Linked DNA regions of Homo sapiens: region 1 is linked to region 2. The links are contacts of gene promoters, found by promoter capture Hi-C in human tissues and cell types (Jung and others, 2019). All regions are on one chromosome and are shown on one strand. Each heading gives the region's core, a stretch centred on a gene start or on the middle of the fragment in contact. The rest is flanking DNA. Distances are from core to core; before and after follow the strand shown.

Region 1 (3,196 bases), core at 697-3,196, 380 kb before region 2:
GGTGGTGGGTACTGCATTGGGTAGGGTGCTGCTGGCATCCCTGGCTGAGGCGGCATGGTGTGGTAGCCCTGGTAGCTTGGTCCAGGGTAGCTGGGCGGCACACTTGGAGGCTGAGGATAAGGGGCATGCACCACAGTGGTGGATGTGGTGGTGGTGACAACCGCTGCAAAGAGAATTCCAGTCAGGACCCTCCTCCATCTCCCCAGGTCTTGAGAGCCAGGCTTGCCACCCATCCCTCCAGCTTAGCCAAAGCAGGGCCTGGTCAGCTTCCCTTACCACCCCAGGGGGTCACAGTGGGGCAGGGTGGGCACGCTTACGACGTGGTCGGCGGCACGTCTTGTAAAGGCAGCAGCAGGAGCAGGTGAAGCAGATGATGATAGTGACGACAGACAGCACAAAGATGGTCAGGCCAACGGCCAAGGTCGCTCCGAACCTGCCAAAGAGCTAGACGTGACCCGGGGCACCTCGCCCCTCCCCAGACCAGCATCCACACCTTCCCAAGGCATGCCCCTCTTGCCAGAAGGGGTCTGGGCAATACAGTTATAGCTACTTCCTTGTCGGGTGGCCTGCACCTGTTTCAATCTGTTTCCTCTTGTGTAAACTGGGGTATATGTGAGTCCCTGTAACTGTCTCTCCCTGGGTCTCCCCCGCTTGTCCCACCCTCAGAGGCATGGGAGGAAGCTCTTCAAGTCCCATGCCACACACATACATCTATCTTGTCCACCTCACAACCAACTGATCAGCAGATGGGTATAGGGCACATGCCACAAGCCAGGCACTGTGATTTGAGTCAAAAAACTTAACAGTGGGCAAGACAGCCAGCCCTGGCCTCTGGGAGCCCACAGTCCAGTGTAGGAGGCAGACAGTGAAGATAACATGGCTCACAAAGCACAGGGTGAAGACTGAGAGAAGCCCCAGGAGGGCAGAGGCCAGTGTGGCCAGAACAGGAGGCCCCCATTGTTCCCCTGCACTCCACAACAGCCCCAGGGCAGGGAGGCTGGCCCCTGAGTGATAAGGACAGTTGCCTCTGCCTGCAAGCTTGCTGTATGCCAAGCACCGTGCCAGGGGTCACACACACCCCTGGGTCCCCCACCTCTGACCTGCATGGCCACTTCCACAGGTGAGAGGGCCAAGAGCCAAGGGGAGGACACAGAGGCCTGGAGGCAGGAGGCCAGAGGGCCTGCCCTTTGAGAAAGCAGGCCCTGGGCTGGGAAGCTCACCAAAATTGACTTCTAGGAGGGGGCAGTGGCTCATGCCTGCAATCTCAGCACTTTGGGAGGCCGAGGAGGGCGGATCACCTGAGGTGAGGTGTTCGAGACCAGCCTGGCCAACATGGTGAAACCCTGTCTCTACTAAAAATACAAAAATTAGTCGGGCACGGTGGCGGGTGCCTGTAATCCCAGCTACTTGGGAGGCTGAGGCAGGAGAATCGCTTGAACCCGAGAGGCAGAGGTTGCATTCAGCCAAGATCACGCCATTGCACTCCAGCCTGGGGACAGGAGCAAAACTCTGTCTCAAAAATGAAAGAAAAAAAAAAAAACCTGACTTCCAAATGCAGACAGAGCCCCTTACTAGCCACCCTGCCGTGTTTGCAGAGGCCAAGCTTCATTCTTTTTCTTTTTTAATTTATTTTTTGAGACAGGGTCTCACTCTGTTGCCCAGGCTGGAGTGCAGTGATATGATCACAGTTCACTGCAGCCTCCACCTCCCAGGCTCAAGTGATTCTCCCACCTCAGCCTCCCCAGTAGCTGGAACCACAGGCATGCACTACCACATTTATTTTTGCAGAGACAGGGGTCTCACTATGTTACCTAACTGGTTTCCAACTCCTGGCCTCAAGCAATCTTCCCTCCTCGGCCTCTCAAAGTGCTGAGATTAAAACTGTCTCGTGGCCAGGGTGCGGTGGCTCATGCCTGTAATCCCAGCACTTTGGGAGGCCGAGATGGGCGGATCACAAGGTTAGCAGTTTGAGACCAGCTTGGTCAACATGGTGAAACCCCGTCTCTACTAAAAATTAGCCGGTAGTCCCAACTACTCAGGAGGCTGAGGCAGGAGAATCGCTTGAACCCAGGAGGTGGAGGTTGTAGTGAGCCAAGATCGCACCACTGCACTCCAGCCTGGGGGACAGAGTGAGACTCTGTCTCAAAAAAAAAAAAAAAAAAAAAAAAGTCAGCCTTACATTTTGTACTGGATGATAAAAGATTTTAAAAAATAAAAAACGGTTGGGTGCGGTGGCTCACACCTGTAATCCCAGTACTTTGGGAGGCCGAGGCAGGTGGATCACCTGAGGTCTGGAATTCGAGAAAGTATAAAAAAAATTAGCCGGACATGATGGTGGGTGCTTGCAATCCCAGCTACTTGGGAGGCTAAGGCAGGAGAATCTCTTGAACCCAAGGAGGCAGAGATTGCAGTGAGCCAAGATCACACCATTGCACTCCAGCCTAGGCAACAAAAGCGAAACTCCATCTCAAAAAAGTAAATAAATAAAAAATAAAAATAAAAAACTGGCCAGGCGCGGTGGCAACACTTCTAGAGGCCGAAGTGGGCGGATCGCTTGAGGTCAGGAGTTCTAGACTACCCTGGCTAACATGGTAAAACCCTGTCTCTACTAAAAATACAAAAATTAGCAGGGCGTAGTGGCGCAAAACTGTAGTCCCAGCTACTCAGGAGGCTGAGGCAGGAGAATCGCTTGAACCAAGGAGGGAGGTTGCAGTGAGCTAAGATTGTGCCACTGCACTCCAGCCTGAGCAACAGTGGGAGACTCCGTCTCAAAAAATTAAAAAATAAAATAAATAGGCCAGGCGCAGTGGTTCATGCCTGTAATCCTAACACTTTGGGAGGCCGAGGCAGGCGGATCGCCTGAGGTCAGGAATTTGAGACCAGCCTGGGCAACATAGTGAAACCCCATCTCTACTAAAATACAAAAAAAAAAAGAATTAGCCGGGCGTGGTGGCACGTGCCTGTGGTCCCAGCTACTGGGGAGGCTGAGGCAGAAGAATCACGTGAACCCATGAGGCGGAGGTTGCAGTGAGCAGAGATCGCGCCACTGCACTCCTGCCTGGGTGACAGAGCGAGACTCTGTCTCCAAAAAAATAAAAAATAATAAGTTTTTTTTAAAAGGTGTCAGCCACCATGCCCAACCCAAGCTTTATTCCAACAAAAGGCAAATGCTTGGTAACTGCATCAAACACATCCA
Region 2 (3,263 bases), core at 66-2,565:
CCAGGCTGGTCTCGAACTCTTGGATTCAAGCGATATTTCCTCCTCAGCCTCCAGAGTAGCTGGTATAGACTATAGGGGCCCACTGCCCCGGCCGGCAAGATAATTATTTACTCTCACCAAATTTGATTCAATCGTTTTGGCCAAGTTTTTAAAAATAGGAATATTCCCAGGGACCATGTTTGAAGAAATACAAACTCAAGTAAGCAGAGGTGAAATGACCTGAGAGATTTGCTTTAATACACTTCGGCAAAGAAAGAAAAAAGGTATGGATGAAACTTTGTGACAAACGCAACTGTTAAATGTAGGTGATGGCATATAGGGATTCATCTCACCTTTCCTCTTTTGTCTATGCTTAAAAGTTTTCACAGTAACTTTTCAAAAAAAATTATTATTTCCAAACAAACTTACTGTCCTATCAATTAAACACAAGTCACTGGATGAGAACGCTGTTGTCTTCGAAGCCAAAACTGGTGAAGGGTCTTAAGCAAAGGCGAGGGATCCTCTAGCAGGGCCGACAGCGCGCACGTTTCCTTCAAGGCTGGATCTGACAAATCACTCGGTGCGCTCTAGGGCTCGCAGGATCGCGGAGCTCAATTTGGAAGTGGCGCACGCGGGCTCACGCCGGTGTCTCAGGGAAACGCTAGAAACGCGGCTACAGAGCTCCCAATCCCAGCCTGCGGTCGGCTTGGCTGCGGCGCGACACCTGGCTCCCTGCCACCCCTCTAGACCTCTGGAGACCTCCTGCACCACTCCCCAGGGCCCCGCCCACAGCCTACCTTCCAAGTCCTCGTCCTCCTCCGACTCGCTGTCCCCTTTGGCGTCGGCGACACGGTCCGGGCCGGGTTCTGGCGGGGGGTGGCCCAGGCTCTGGCGTGGGGTGGCGGCGGGCAGGACTGAGGCTGGGGCGCGGGCCTCGCGCAGGCGGGTGAAGTACTCCACTGCGAATTCGACGAGGTCAGGCGGCTGCTGTCGCAGCACCTCCACCGTGTAGCCCTGCAGCAGCTCCGTGAGCCCCGGCGGGATCTGGATGTGGCTCATGCCGGCGGCGGCCGAAGGGATAGACGGGTTGGGCCGCCGGCGGCCACTGTCTCCGCGCTCACTCACGCCGGCCTTTCGCTCCGCGCCCGCGAGGTCTCTTCGCGCACGGCCCCGGCTCACGTCGCGCCGCTCTTTGGCCGGCTCTGCGTTTCCGGGCCGCGCAACCCTACGCTACCACGGCCGACCTGGCACCGCCGCCGCTGTCACTGGGCAGCCGCCGCCGCCGCGGGGACCGACGGGCAGGCGAGCTGGACGGGCGGGGCAGGCGTCCTGGTTGTGACGCACGCCACCGCGGGCGTGCGCGTCCCCGCTTAGCACCGGCCCTCAGTGCGCTTGCGCCACTAGATGACCCGCCCCCTCGGGCTGTCGGGGGGTCGAGACAGTGGAGTGTTCCTGATGCCAGCTCACGGAGGGAATCCAGGGAATTAGGTAATGAACGGTCTACCCATGAAGGGGACCGATTAGTGCCTCTCGCCTGGTCCTGAAGACCTTTAAATTATTCTTTCAGCTGATGCCAAGAGCCTCTTTTTGGCCAGCACTTACTAAGCACCAGAGACACAGCGAGAAGCAGAAGCATACGAGCACATCAGTGTGATTCTGCTGTGATGAAGGGCAAGAGAGGGCTCACTTTCCGGCGTGACATTCAAGCTAGCCCCGAGGCCTGAGCAGGACCCGCCCAGGGGAAGATCTGGAGGAAAGCCATCTGAACATACAACAAGAGCAAAGGCCTGGTGGAGTCAAGACCACCTTGGCTGCCAGGTGGAATGGTGGAATAACTCAGGAGTCTGTCAGGTCTCTGAGATGTCAAACGGGTAAGGCCTTGTAGGAAGTAGGCGTTTGAATGAGATCATAATTTGAGAGCCACAGACAGAAAAATAAATTTGAAAGAGTTCACTCAGCCAAATGTGTACAGTGAGAAAGGGAAATAAGGCCAAAAGCAGCAAAGACCTCTGTGCCTGTTCCTCCTGGAGCACTTTCACCAGGGTCCCCAGATCTAGGTCTGCCCATTCCTCTCCCCACATTCTACACTGGGCCCTAGGTCAACACTGCTTGATGAAGTTGAGCAGACCACAGGCATTGTTATCCTTTGCCCCTGGGAAGATGGTATAGGTGAACTGTAGAGGCCAGACTATTTCCCAAATTGCCCTCCTCCTCCTACCAAACTGGAAGGGTATTGAAAAAGGTGGAGACCTTCCTGGGATGTCCAGTCTACAGCCTACGTGCTAACCAAAGGCCCACTGGGCATAGAGCAGAGTCCCCCTCTCCTTACAGGCCTAGCCAGGAAGAGAGTAGCTGTAGGTTTGGGAACCTGAGGGCATTTGGGATGCTTAAACACCGCCTGGTAATTACTCAGTATTAATTAAAATCCTCCCTATCACCTCCCATACAGGCTTGGCACACACCCAGGAGCTCAATGCTGCTGGGAGCTGAGCAGCTGGGAGCAAGGAGCCCTCATCCCCACTGATGAAGAGGCCAGCCCAGGTTCTAGGCTAAGCAGGCCTGTGATTATAAACAGCAGTGTCTCCCTGGACAAGTTTCTTGACCCTGAGAAGAATGTTAGACCATCAACTTTGTGAGGGGACAGGCAGTCTCCAACTTTTTTCCTGCTCAGTCCTTATTGCATACTCTTGGAGAAGGTCTACTGACTTGTTCTCAGATGCCCCACGGCTCAGCCAACCACCCATCCAGCAGAGCATTCAAAAGGCATCTGGAAGGAATGAGGGCGACCGTTCTGCCAGGCCCCTATTTTTTTTTGAGAGGAGTCTCACTCTGTCGCCCAGGCTGGAGTGCAATGGCATGACCTCTGCTCACTGCAAGCTCTGCCTCCCAGGTTCAAGCGATTCTCCTGTCTCAGCCTCCCAAGTAGCTGGTACTACAGGCGTGCACCACCACACCCAGCAAATTTTTTCTATTTTTAGTAGAGATGGGGTTTCTCCATGTTGGCCAGGATGGTCTCAATCTCTTGACCTCGTGATCCACCCGCCTCAGCCTCCCAAAGTGCTGGGATTACAGGCGTGAGCCACCGCACCTGGCTTTTTTTTTTTCTTTTAGATGGAGTCTTCCTTTTGTCGCCCAAGGTGGAGTGCAATGGCACGATCTCAGCTCACTGCAACCTCCACCTCCCAGGTTCAAGCAATTCTCCTGCATCAGCCTCCTGTGTAGCTGGGATTATAGGCACCTGCCACCATGCCCAGTTAATTTTTGTATTTTCAGTAGAGACGGGG

Evidence for each region. Contacts are between HindIII fragments. The study calls those that stand out against the background at their distance.
Region 1: a fragment that was not itself captured here is called in contact with the fragment with the promoter of PRKAR2A in region 2 in 1 of the 25 tissues and cell types used here (aorta).

The regions. Positions count from the first base shown.
Region 1 is chr3:48,469,411-48,472,606 of GRCh38, forward strand. SHISA5 (shisa family member 5) reads right to left here. Exons shown (of 6, transcript NM_016479.6): 4 at 318-433; 5 at 1-163. Among named protein-coding and RNA genes, the nearest start is that of TREX1, 4.8 kb to the left of the region's middle. RefSeq lists enhancers at 511-660, 3,140-3,196. The HindIII fragment of the contact is 3,683 bases long and covers 106-3,196 here.
Region 2 is chr3:48,846,559-48,849,821 of GRCh38, forward strand. PRKAR2A (protein kinase cAMP-dependent type II regulatory subunit alpha) reads right to left here and starts at 1,316. Exons shown (of 11, transcript NM_004157.4): 1 at 777-1,316. The coding sequence starts at 1,038. PRKAR2A-AS1 (PRKAR2A antisense RNA 1) reads left to right here and starts at 1,379. Exons shown (of 3, transcript NR_109997.1): 1 at 1,379-1,467; 2 at 1,547-1,850; 3 at 2,429-3,263. RefSeq lists a silencer at 1,129-1,458. The HindIII fragment of the contact is 13,078 bases long and covers 1-3,263 here.